Regions from separate parts of the Homo sapiens genome. Here regions 1 and 3 are each linked to region 2. Evidence: promoter capture Hi-C in 16 types of primary human blood cells and fetal thymus (Javierre and others, 2016). All regions are on one chromosome and are shown on one strand. Each heading gives the region's core, a stretch centred on a gene start or on the middle of the fragment in contact. The rest is flanking DNA. Distances are from core to core; before and after follow the strand shown. Region 1 holds the start of ZNF32 (zinc finger protein 32). Region 2 holds the start of ZNF25 (zinc finger protein 25). Region 3 holds the start of ZNF239 (zinc finger protein 239).

Region 1 (4,093 bases), core at 1,555-4,054, 5.7 Mb after region 2:
ATTCTGGGCATATCTTCCATGACAGTCCAGCAGGGTAGCTGTTGGAAATCCAAACATGTCCACTCCTGCTTACGACCTCAGTCACCACCTCTTCATATGATTCTTCCATGGGCTGTTCCTGAGCACCTGAGGGAGAAAAACAAACAGAAACAAACAGGAAAGGGCAGAATAATTGATATGTGAGAAGGAAAAAGTCAACAGTTGTTGAGACATAAGTGAATGTAAGAAACCTAGATTGTTTGACATAATGTCAGTTACTAAAATATCACTGCAAAATGGGCCCAAAGGTACCAGGACCACACACAAATGAGTCTAGGAGGAAGCAGGATGTGGGAAAGCAGAGAACACATAAACATATATCTCTTCCTGCCAATCCCAAGTTAATAGTCACTCCTGTTTACACTTTGGTCTTGGCATGTAATTGGGATCTTCCATTTTGGTTCCCCACCTAACCACCTACTACTTTCTTCCCTCCAAGCCCCAGAGGAATTCAGAATCTAAGAAAACAACATTTCAGCCTTCATGATTGGTTGGAGCCAATCAGCTCTCCAGTTATCTGTAGTTACAAAGACTTAACAAGAGAGTCCATTTGTTACCACTGAACAATTCTTAGGAGGCTCCAGACCCAGACTCGCCTTTCTCTTGCTCTTGAAGATACAAGAATACCAGTTCTGACCAAGTGTAAACACTTGTCAATTCTTGGAAAAGAAAGACCTACTCTGGACTCCAAGCCCAAGGCACTCCAACTAGGTTAAGTAACTTGCCCAGAAACCCACAGAAAATAAGGAGTCAAAGTGGAGCAAAGGTTCAAATCCAAGACTTTCTGGATCCAAAATGTATGCTCTTACATTAGACAGTTGTCTAGTTCCTAATCACTAAAGAGCTGGTCAGAATGCTTATAAAATTGAACAGAAAGGAAGAGAGTTTGACCAGATTGAAGTGCTCTTTCAGATCCTAGGAATCCTCTTGTATGTGCTCTAAATTATTTTTTAATTTTTTTAAAATTCTGAGTCAAGATTTTGCTCTGTTGCCCAGGCTGGAGTACAGTGACTCAATTACAGCTTGCTGTGACTTTGAACTCCTGGACTCAACGGATCCTCCCACTTCAGCCTCCCAAATAACTAGGACTACAGGTAAGCACCACCAAGCCTGGCTAATTTTTAAAAATTATTTTAACTTTTTTTTGTAGAGATCGGGTCTCATTATCCTGCCCAGGCTGGTCTCCAACTCTTGGCCTGAAGTGACCCTCCTGCCTCGGCCTCCCAAGACATGTAGGCATGAGCTACTACACCTGGCCCACATGATCTATTTTTTAAAAAAAATATTTCTTCTTACTTCAGGATCCTAATTACTGAATTCTTATACTTTTAAGAAATGCAGTGGTTCAATGCATACTCCTTGTTTCCCTCTAATTTGTCCTATCAAAATGCTGGCCTTCTGATTTAATGAAATAATAGTATGATGCTACCATTCTTTGTTTTGTCAACCTAAGCACCTGGTTCTTCTTGACAACTGCACATTCTGCTACATGCTGTGATGACCAGGAGAATCATTTAAATTTTTATTTGGAGGACTCACTTCCAACTTGGAACACAAGCTGCAAAGGAATTCCCTACCAGCATGCCAGCACATCATTTGGAAGTTCAAGGTATTCTTGCTCAACAGCTGCACACACATTAAAAGTCCCTGGGGTACATGGCGCCTGCTGCCTGGGGTTGGACTCTGTCGCCGGGGATTCCAGAAATTAGAGTAGAATTCACAGCTCTGCCTCTCCACCTGCTGTGAGGTCTTCAAGTTACAACTCCGCCGCCTATCAGGGACCTCCGTGATTAGTAAGGGAGAAATTGTCATATTTTTCTCCCTAGATCACAGGTCTGAGGAAGCAGTTTCCCCAAGATTTTGTAAAAGTGGCTTTATAATTAAAAACATTGATTTTCCTATTAGAAAGGCTACTATATCCTTTGGAAAAAGCTTAGAAGTAGTCCGTGAGTCTTGGCTTCTTGCCGTGGCTCCCCCAGGATATGATCTTGGGCGAGTAACCCAGCAGCCCTGACTCTGCTTCCCCACTTATTAAACAGGTTACTAACACTGTCCTATCAGGTAGGACAATGAGAAGGAAAGAACCAAACAAGAGGAGTATCAGACGAGACCACCAGACTTAAGATCTAAAATCCGGCGTCCTCTGGAGGGCGGATGAGAAGAGGGGTACACTTGGCGGTCTGGAAAATGTCCTGGGGCCAGTTTCAGGTTTAGGAGCTTGTGGGTAGCGTGGTTTCCCACACGCTGCCTGGCTTCCTACTCTCCCCCGCAGGGGCTGCCTCTCCTCCCACCCCGGAAGGCCGGCACCGGCTTCCCGCACTCGCTGAAGCCCGCACGGAGGCCGGGTGAGCCTGCCGCGGCCTCCCCCTCCCACGCCCCGACGCCATGGGCCCTGCTCCTCTCCGCAGACGCTGCCCTCCCGCCTCAGGCCCCGGGCCCCGGGCACCGGGCCCGCCCTGCGTCCTGAACCTCGGCATCCCGCTCTCCGGTCCACGGGACCCTGCTCTGCGGACCGCCGACCTCTCCGCTCGCGGCTGGCCTCCCTCGGGGCCCGGGCCGGCCAGGCCTGCTCATTTCCTTGGCGGCCGCTGGCATAAGGCGGCCACACGGAGGGCCCGGGACAGCGGTCTGATGGCGCAGCCCCGCCTTGCCCCGGCGCTCTGACCCGGCCAGCGGCCTCACTCACCGCAGCGGCGCGTGCCCGCAGACAAAGGCCGGCGCCGAGCCCGCAGCAGCGCCAGCGCCGGCGCCGGCGGAATGGACTACAACTCCCAGGAGTCTCCCCGCGAGCCCGCCCGCCGGGCCGTGGGTCTCGGCGGCCCCGGCTTCCCAAGAGCTCTGTGGGAAATGTAGTTCTCTGGCGCGCCCTGCGCTCGGGCCCCGCAGGTCCCTAGGGCGCGGGGACCTCAAGCCGTCCCGTTTGGACTGGTAATCCGGAGACTCACAGCGGTGACCTGTCAGCGGACGCGGAGCCGGGACGGAGCCACGGCCGCTCAGATTAGCAGGATCTGATTGACAGCATCGGGGTAGCAGACGCTGAGCCAGGGACTCAGGAATACAGGGTTCTTGCAGGGCGTCGCGGAAGGAAACGAAGTTTTTGGGAGAAATCCGTTTGATAAAGCCTTGGCGGCTTCGAGGTCATGTGTTGAGCCTCTGGCTGCATGAACAAAAGCGAAGCCCGCTTTCATGGAGCTTCTGTGAAGAGCAACAGGAACACAGGCAGTCCAGTCGTCCTGAGATACTGGGAGGAGCATGGTTGCTTTTGAACACGTAGGAGATAAAGCCTCTCTAATAATGCCTGTTTTTTTTTTTCCTTCACTCTGTCTCCCAGGCTTGAGTGCAGTGGCACGGTGTCGCCTCACTGCAACCTCCGCCTTCTGGGCTCAAGTGATTCTCCTGCCCCAGCCTCCCAAGTAGCTGGGACTACAGGTCTGTGCCACCATGCCTGGCTAATTTTTTTGTATTTTTAGTAGAGATGAAGGTTTTACCATGTTGGCCAGGCTGTCTGATATGCCTTAAGCCTCTTTTAAACGCACTTTTCCAGGATCGGGGCCACATCCTGGAGCTGTTCTGCCTGGCCGGGTGTATCTCTGGGTCCCTGCCTCTGGAGCCCCTCTCCGTAGATGTGTCTGTCCATCCTCTTTCGTGAAGGACTAATAAAGAATGCTTCCTCTTGCTATGTTCTTGTTCTCTACCCCAAAGCCACAGATTTGTTAAATCAAACAACTTAATTTCACTCAATATGCAAAGGTGTCTGTAAGTAATAAGTTGATTCCTAAATGTTAGCTTTTACTATTGCACATCATTTCTGAATTTCATTCAACATTTATCCGTTGAATCCATTTTAAGTGCTGACACTGGGGATACGAATGTGAGCAAGACACACTCCGTGCTCCTAGGGAGGAGCTGACAGTCTGGTGGAGCAAACAAACACCACCTTCCTCACATGGGGGTCGGGGTGTTGCACAGCTAAGTCCCAGAGTGTGTGGTGCAAACTGTCCTGAAGCTCCCCATTCCTGAACTGCCCCAGGTGGCTCCTCTCCTCACTCCTCCC
Region 2 (4,318 bases), core at 1,084-3,583:
AAGCAATAACAGTGAAAAGACACCCAAAGAATAGGAGAAAATATTTGCAAACTACCCATCTGACAAGGAATTAATAACCAGAATATACAAGGAACTCAACAGTCAGAAAACAAAAAATTTGATTTAAAAAAATTGAGCAAATGATCTGAACAGACATTCCACAATAGAAGACATACAAATGGCCAATAGGTATACGATAAAATCTTCAACATCATTAATCATCAGACAAATGCAAATCAAAACCATAATGGGATATCATTTTACCCCTTAAAACAGCTATTATAAAAAAGGCAAAAAAATAACAAATGCTGGGATATAGAGAAAGGAGAACCCTCATACAACCTTGGTGGCAATGTAAACTAGTACAGCCACTGTGGAAAACAGTATGGAGGTTCCTCAAAAAATTGAAAACAGAATTACCATATGATCTAGCAATCTCACTGCTATATATATATCCAAAAGAAGGGAAATCCGTATATTGAAGATATCTCTGCACTCCCATTTTTATCGCAGCACTATTCACAATAGTCTAGATACAGAATCCACCTAAGTACCCATCAATGCATGAATAGATAATGAAAATTGTGGTATATATACACAATGGAATATTATTCAGACATAAAAAGAAGGAAATTTTGTCATTGCAGCAACAAAGATGGAACTGGAGGGCATTATGTTACATGAAATAAGCCAGGCACAGAAAGACAAATATCATGTTCTCACTCATACGCAGGAGCTAAGATAGTTGATCTCATGAAGATACGATGTAGAATGATGGTTACCAGAGGCTGCGAAGGGAAGTAGGGAGTGAGGAATGAAGAGAGGTTGGTTAATGGGTACAAAAATACAGTTAGGTAGAAGGATTAAGTCCTAGTGTTCAATAGCACAGTATGGTTACAAGTGTTAGCAATAATTTATTAGCTATCAGAATAGCTAGAAGATTTCGAATATTTGCAACACAAAGAAATGATAAATGAGGCGGTGGATATTGTAATTACCCCGATTTGATCATGACACATTGTATGCATATATCAAAATATCACATGTACCCCACAAATATGTACATTATGTACCAAAAAAAAAAACTAAAATAAGCAGCAAAAACCACTTCCAGCTAGCATGGTGCTTACGAAATGCCTAAGCTCAGTTATCAGCCAATGAGAGGCATTATAAGATCACCACCATAAAATGGAGGAACTGATGAACTGCAGTTTTCATCTTTAAAAAAATTTTTTGTCCCATTTCCTGTCTTTAGAAACTAGCCTCTGGGCTGGATGGGATTCCCAGCTTCTCCTGTAAAATGCAAAATTGAGGGCTCAAATTGTGGTTTCAATTTACACGTTTCACAGTCCTCTGAGAAGAGACTAAGGTTGGAGGATGCAGGAAGGCCTTAAATAATTCACCTTTTGACTCAAGTGCTCTGAAGATTCCCCAAGCATTTTTGGAAACAGAACACTACCTGGTTGAGACTGGGTTCAAGTACACCACACAGCTACGTTCTGGTGGTGCTCAAGGGGCAAATGCTGTGCTAAATACAAGTCAAGACTGGATTTTAGTGTGGCAAGGCGCATTAACTCAGAGGAAAAAGTGAGGATTTACATCCCACCTGCTAATACTGTGGGTAAACGGATTTCTCTCTCTGAATCTTTAATAGTCACATTTATTTTAATAGAGATGGTTAAGTCGAAAGGATGGTTACGATGATTAAATGAGCCAATAATGAAAACAGCATGTTTTGTAATAATAGAAGCAGCTCACCTTTATTGAGTCCTGTATCATACTTTACATCTATTACCCTATTCAGTACCCAAAGGCCCCCATCATTTGCCAGATGCGCGTCGAGCCGCACTGGGACCACCTACAGACGCTGGACCAGAGCCCACGTCCCTGCGGCTTTGGAGCGCCGCGTCTGCAGCGGCCAGCGCGCCTCACATGGCGGCTCCGGTCACGTCACACAATGCGGCTGCTCCGGGCGCCCACTGCCCAGCACCGCAGGCCTCCTCTGGCCGCCCCTCAAGCAGGTCGCGCAAACGCCATTCCGGGCAGGGGCGCCAGCGCAGCCAGCCAACCTCCCCACCAGGCGGCTCCCACCCAGGGCCCTCCGCGGAGGCCGCTCCGGGGCCAGGAGGCGGCTTCCAGGCTCGAGACCCCGCCTCCCAGGCCCTGCCCGCCCGCAAAAGCCTTCGACACACCTGCAGGGTCTCGGCCTCTGCTCCCGGCCCGCGCCGGGCCCAGGCCCCGCCCTTTGCGGCCCAGCCCAGACCCGGAGGCACCGGAGTCCTCTCCCCACCCTAGGGCGTAAGACCAAAAAAACGCCAATGCCAGAAAGAAGACACTGCACATGCGCAGAACGTTTCCCTAGCCCTACTCCAGAACTACGCTTCCCAGAAGGCCCGGCTGCGACTCCATCTTGGATGACGTCGTGAGGCGCGGCCGCCTCCAGCGGCCTGAGTGATTGCTGTCGGGTTTCCGGGAGAGGGCGCTGTCCTTGCTCAGTGATGGCCGGAGAGCTGCACCCTGCACGTCTGGGCTTGAAGACAGAAATCCACCGTGAGGTGCTCCAAGGAACACTGATGGGCAGTTTTGTTAAAGTGATTGAACTCCGTGGGTACAGGAGTACGTGGAGTAATGAAGGATAATGCCCTGTAACCGCTTCCTCTTAGGAATGCTAGCTTTCACAATTGTGCAAACGGTACGCGAAACGTAATAAACTACAAAATATGTATAAGCTAAAACAGAAAACGAGTATACCACTTCCCAAAAGCAAAAGCGCTTAATGTTAGGTGAACATCCTTCTCATGAATTTACACAAATTTTAACCTAATGGTATAGAGTATCATGACTATCATTTCACTAAGGAATATATATAGTCATCCCTCCTTATCCTGGGGGTGCATATCTATGGATTCAACTAAGCTCAGAATGAAAATACTTAAAAATTCTATCTTACTGAACATGTACAAAGTTTCCCCCTTGTCATTATACCCTAAACAATACAATAAAACTATTTACATAGTATTTACATTGTGTTAGGTGTACAATTAATCTAGACATAATTTAAAATATACAGGAGGAGGTGTGTAGGTTATGCAAATATCAGGTTATTTTCTACCAGAGACTTGAACATCCCTGGATTTGAGTAATCCAGGGAGGTCCTGGTACTAATCCCCCGCGGATACAGAGAGAGGACTTGGCTGTATATGTAAAACAAATTATATATTTCCTGGTCAATAACTTTATTACATTAAAACATGTAGAATCATCTAGAAAAAAACGTATATATTGTCATGTGTATAAACACACATATATATACATATAAAAATATGCGCACATAATACACACACACACACCACCTTTCTGGATGGGAAGTATTGAGGAAATAATTTAAAATAAAGCCTCTTGCCAACCCAGAAAATTCTCTCCACAGATGGAGAAAAGAACAAAACAGTTACATTATTGAATAAACATTAAACCAGACTGCGATGTGCGTCACAGGCAACCCACTAATGAGTTTATGAAGACAGGAAGAACTATCATTTTTTGTATTAGCCGGTCTGGTACAACGCATTCTATTTCCTCAAGGTAAAAATAACTTGTCCTCAAGTAAGATGACTGTACAGCAACATTTGCTATGCATAATTCATCTGAAATTCACCTGATAATTAGGGTAGCCATCAGTGTTAGTTAATTGCCATTATGCAAATGAAAAGTAAAGTTTCTGGTATCTCTATGACACGCAGGTAGTTAACCGCGGGTAGCCAGGAGCCTAGGAGTTTACCACAGAGGCAGGGAGATGGGGTGCAATCTTCCTTGATGCTTACATTTCAAAGACATGACCCAAGGCCATTAAGAAAGACCTTCCTGGGTTGTTAAACTAGCAAGAAGCTTATTTACTTTTTAAAAAGTTTTGCTATATCTCACAGGGACAGAGAAGGGATTTACAATTACAAGTTTTCTTAAGGAAATGCTGTAAGAAAAGAGAGGAGTAAAGGTCTTTTTCCCTTTTTGCAAGAAGGAAAATTCAGTTGTTTTATTTTTTTCTTTGAGACAGAGTCTGGCTTTGTCACCCAGACTGGGATGCAGTGGCATGATCCCGGCTCACTGCAACCTCTGCCTCCCAGGTTCAAGGAATTCTCTGCTTCAGCCTCCTGAGTAGCTGGGATTACAGTCGCCCACCACCACGCCTGGCTAATTTTTTTTGTATTTTTAGTAGAGACGGGATTTCACCATCTTGGCCAAGGTGGTCTTGAGCTCCTGACTTCGTGATCCACCTGCCTCAGCCTCCCAAAGTGCTGGGATTACAGGCGTGAGCCACTGC
Region 3 (4,202 bases), core at 955-3,454, 5.6 Mb after region 2:
AGGGCTGTATTTGCCAAGCAAAAAGATGGCCTTTGCTGGTAGTGTTAAAAAACATTTTTTTTCCCTTAAAACGCAGTCTGATATTTTATTCAAACAACTTCTGATGTGATGACCTGTTTAGTTAATGGAGAAAGAACAGCCTGAAGGAAGAAAACACGGGGTTTATTTCTGGCCTTCTGCTCTCTGAAACAAAGGACAAGGCACTTTCCTTCGGCTCTCTCAGAGTTAGCCGAGTTAGAGCTCTCCACCATAAAACGCCAGGACAGGGCAAAGAGGGGGCCGACCATCTCAAACACCATGGGATTCTAAGTGGGGGCTGACCATCTCAAATACCCTGGGAGTCTAAGGGTTAATTTTGAGGTAACCTCCTACAGATGGTTTTATGGGGACAACTGAAAACTCTCTTTAAAAAAGTACGACTTGGTAATTTAAAATTTACTGGAACAGTTAAATATGTAGACATGCTAGTGAAAGAGAACAAATCAACCTGAGTATAAAGGATGAATAACTCATTTTACCTACCCTAGAGACACTTATAGTGTATAGAGAGATATTTCACAATAAACCTTTGGATGTACAAAGATCAACAGAATAAAAAAGGAGTGAAACTCTCCTTTCACTAGGTCTGGAAGAGAGAAGGAAGCTTAGTTCTTAAAAAACACCACAGAGAGTTCTGATGCATAGCCTAGTTGAAAAGCATTTCTAGAGTGATTTTGTAACCACTGTGCTGCCATTTAACGAATTTCCTCGTTTTTGACTCATAGTTAATAAATTATCACTATTAATATGCATTTTTTTGTGTACAGGTAATATAATATGTTCATCAAGATGGTAAGCTCCTTGAAGAAAAGCACCGTGGTTTATCATTCTATCTGTTTTGCTGAGACCACTTAGCACTGGGATGAGTATGGAATAGCTTGGAATGACTTTCAATGTGAGTGAAATGTCTGGCAGGAAAAGGCAGGCTTTGAGAGGCTCCCCAGGAGGGCACAGCCCACTGCTCTGAGGAGTGGAATAAATTCTTGGAGGCAGGATGGGCCAGTGAAAACTCTCTGTGCAGACCCTGGTGACATCATCTGCTAGCTACATGTCCTTAGTATCTTAATGTCCCTACATCCATAGCTATAAAATACCGTACTGGGGGCCTGACAATAAAGAAAACAACACATGGCACAGGGACATTTCAGGGAGATGGCATTTTAGGAGAAATGGAACGCCAACTCACCCGGACCCTGGTCATTTCTTACTCCCAGAGGGGATGGATTCCTGGAAAGGCAGAGTTAGGGAAAGAGAAAAAGCCATGAAAATCAAGTCCAGCAAGACTGCGGGGAAAAAGTTACTCCGCTCCTGCCTCTGACGCTTCTTCAGTCACTTCCACCCACACTCCCTCCATCAGGTGAGAGGTGAAGCATTTTCTGTCACCACCTTCATCTCTCTCCACAGGGCTTTCGATTAAACAAGCCAAGTTTTCCCCCCAAAACCAAGAGGCTAGGTAAATTCCGCAGCCGCCGGCAGCTCGAAGCCGTGCCCATTTCCTCTGACTTTCCCGATCTCTGTCCTAAAGTTCTAGTTAAGAGGAGAAGCTTCTCGGGATGGATTTCGGTTGCCCAAGACGCCTTCCCCGACCTCATTCTCAGGAGCCTGGCTCGTTCCTGCGGTGCGGGGGCTCAGATGCAAGCTCTTTTCAGCGAAGGCAGTGCTGCGGACAGAAACCTCAGTCTCTTACAGGAGCCCCCGTCCGTCGCCTAACGTCCACCGAAAACCCCCCTGCAATAACGCCCGTCACAGGCGAGGAAAAGGCCGGCGTGGCCAACCACGAAGCCCCCAGCCGGCCCAGGCCAGAGCTCGGCCAGGAGGGAGGAGGGGCCATCGGAGGCGCGGCCGCTCAGCTGCAGGGCCCCACAGGCTTCGGTGTGGCCGCAGCCCGGCCCCGGGGGCGCAGCAGCTCGGAAATGCGGCGCCGGGACACACGTGCCGCCGCGGGCCGCGCCTCCGCTGGTCGCGTGCCCTACCATCGCCGCCCTCCCGGCTTCCGCAGCTCGGCGGCCCAGCGCCTTACCCGCGGCACACCCATTTCCTGACCCCTGAACGCCTCTGCCAGCGGCTGGGGAAGCCCGGCCAGTCTCACCTCCCACGTGGAACCCCACGCCTGCAGGGGCCAGATTCCGGATGCTGACCGCTCGCGCGCCTAGGGCCCCGAAATACAAGTCCCAGCAAGCCGCGGGCGAACCACGCCCACTTCCGGCGCGGGCCCCTGAACTCTGCGCTGTGCGGAGCGGGATTCTTGGGCGGAGGGGACCATCTTTGAGTCAGCGACGCGTGTATTCAAGTCCTCCTCCTCGTTTTTTATTACAAACAAATAAGAATTATTTTAGGAATACCTGTTAAGGTGATTTTCATTTGTTAAAATACTATTGGGGGAAAAGGATGTAAATACCCATAATTTCATCTTTACCTTTCAAAACATTCTGAAGTGAATATTTGCCATTCGGCATCTTCCATCTCACCTCTGAAGTTCATCCATTTAACAGATATTAATTGAGAGCCAACTGTGTACCAGGAGCTGTTCAAGATGCTTGCACAAAAGTCACTGCCCTATTCTAGTTGGGGAAACAAGCAATCCATAAATATAGTAAATATATGGCGTCGTGTGTGTCATGAGGTGGTACTGAAAGCATAGAGCTGGGCGGGGTGTGGCGAGGTGCGTTTGTGGGTGTGTAGGACTGGAGGTGTACTTTGCAATTTTAAATAGGGGATCTTGGAACAAACACAGGAGGTGAGGGAATTAGACAAGTGGCTCCCAGCAGTCAGAACTCTCCTAAACGCACACAAGGGTTGTTGATACCAGGATTTTACGTTTATTTCACTTCTCACCGAGTGACACAGAGCTACCCATTTGGTCTTTTCCCAATTCCTTTCTTTCAGATTTATTTTGGAGAGGAAAGAGATGTTGCCTGGACCTCTCTTCTACATCCTCCCCCTTCCTTGGTGTATTAGTTTCCAATTGCTGTCACAACAAATTAACACAAACTTAGTAGTATAACAAACATGTATTCTCTTAAACTTCTGGAGGTGCCAAGTCTGAAATCAAGTTTTACTGGGCTTTATAAAGTCAGTGTTGGTGGGGCTAGTTCCTCCTGGAGGTTCTAGATGAGAATATTTCTTTGCCTTTTCCAGTTCCCAGTGACTATTTGCATTCCTTGGCTTATGGCTCGCTCCTTTATCTTCAAAGTGCATGACTGCAACCTCTGCCTTCATCATCACATCACATGCTCAGGCACTGGCTCCTCGTGGGTCCTTCTAATAACGACTGTTGTGATTACATCAGGCCCAGCTGGCTAATCTGGGATAATCTCTTGACGTCAAGATCCTTAATTTAATCACATTTCAAAAAAAATCCCTCTTGCCATAGAAATTAACATCCACAGCTTCTGGGGGTTAGGACATGGACATATTTGGGGGACTATTATTTTCAGCCTGCGATGCTTGGAGAGGCCCACGTCCCCTTCGGTCTCCTCCTCAGAGATGCTGTCTTACCTTTTGCCTGGGGAACACAAAATGTCTCCCTTGGACCTTACTCCTCTCCTCATTCTTCATTGGAAAACCACAGAGCTTTTCCCTATTTAGATTTACCACCCTTGCCCTGACCTTCACTTCCTCATGTGCTCACTTCTCTCCTCACTCAATTTAAGAGGCCATGGAGCATGGTTATGGCCAGTCCTGTGTATGTGCCGTTACCCTTAACTCTCTTGTCCCAGTCTTTCTTGGTTTTATTCTCTTGATGGAAACCCAAATCTGCTTGAATCCAGTTCCTGGCCTGCGCCTGTACGGCAGAGGTTGTTTGAGAAAACCACATGGCTGGGATGATTGGTTTCATTTTCAGTTTATAACCATTAAGTTCAAGTGGGCCCTTCACGCTGCCTGGCTATCCTTCTACATTTCTTAGTCCATCCATTCTCCTAAATGACTATTTCACAGGTTCTACTCTCTTTTCATTATTTATTTATTTATTTTTTTGAGCCAGGCTGGAGTTCAGTAGTGCGATCTTGGCTGACTGCAATCTCTGCTTCCTGGGCACAAGCAACCCTCCCACCTCAGCCTCCTAAGTAGCTGGGACTATAGGCTTGCGCCACCACACCAGGCTAATTTTTGTATTTTTTTTTTTAAGAGATGAAGTTTCACCATGTTGTTCGGGCTGGTCT

Evidence for each region. Contacts are between HindIII fragments. The CHiCAGO score rates a contact against its expected background, and 5 or more counts as called.
Region 1: the fragment with the promoter of ZNF32 here is called in contact with the fragment with the promoter of ZNF25 in region 2 in 3 of 17 cell types (total CD4 T cells, monocytes and non-activated CD4 T cells); the score reaches 7.6 in total CD4 T cells.
Region 3: the fragment with the promoter of ZNF239 here is called in contact with the fragment with the promoter of ZNF25 in region 2 in 1 of 17 cell types (non-activated CD4 T cells); the score reaches 5.4 in non-activated CD4 T cells.

Annotation. Positions count from the first base shown.
Region 1 is chr10:43,646,077-43,650,169 of GRCh38, forward strand. It overlaps ZNF32 (zinc finger protein 32), which reads right to left and starts at 2,805. Exons shown (of 3, transcript NM_006973.3): 1 at 2,726-2,805; 2 at 1-126. The coding sequence starts at 57. All of the region lies in intron 1 of ZNF32-AS3 (ZNF32 antisense RNA 3), which reads left to right. It overlaps ZNF32-AS2 (ZNF32 antisense RNA 2), which reads left to right. Exons shown (of 3, transcript NR_047558.1): 1 at 1-221; 2 at 1,036-1,133; 3 at 1,493-1,943. RefSeq lists an enhancer at 1-759 and a silencer at 2,311-2,830. The HindIII fragment of the contact is 4,172 bases long and covers 1,970-4,093 here.
Region 2 is chr10:37,974,314-37,978,631 of GRCh38, forward strand. ZNF25 (zinc finger protein 25) reads right to left here and starts at 2,334. Exons shown (of 6, transcript NM_145011.4): 1 at 2,193-2,334. It overlaps ZNF25-DT (ZNF25 divergent transcript), which reads left to right and starts at 2,442. Exons shown (of 6, transcript XR_930830.4): 1 at 2,442-2,692. RefSeq lists enhancers at 1,218-1,307, 2,348-2,577 and a silencer at 1,898-2,307. The HindIII fragment of the contact is 11,670 bases long and covers 1-3,883 here.
Region 3 is chr10:43,572,412-43,576,613 of GRCh38, forward strand. It overlaps ZNF239 (zinc finger protein 239), which reads right to left and starts at 2,205. Exons shown (of 4, transcript NM_001099282.2): 1 at 2,129-2,205; 2 at 1,226-1,266. RefSeq lists a silencer at 1,928-1,987. The HindIII fragment of the contact is 4,716 bases long and covers 1,582-4,202 here.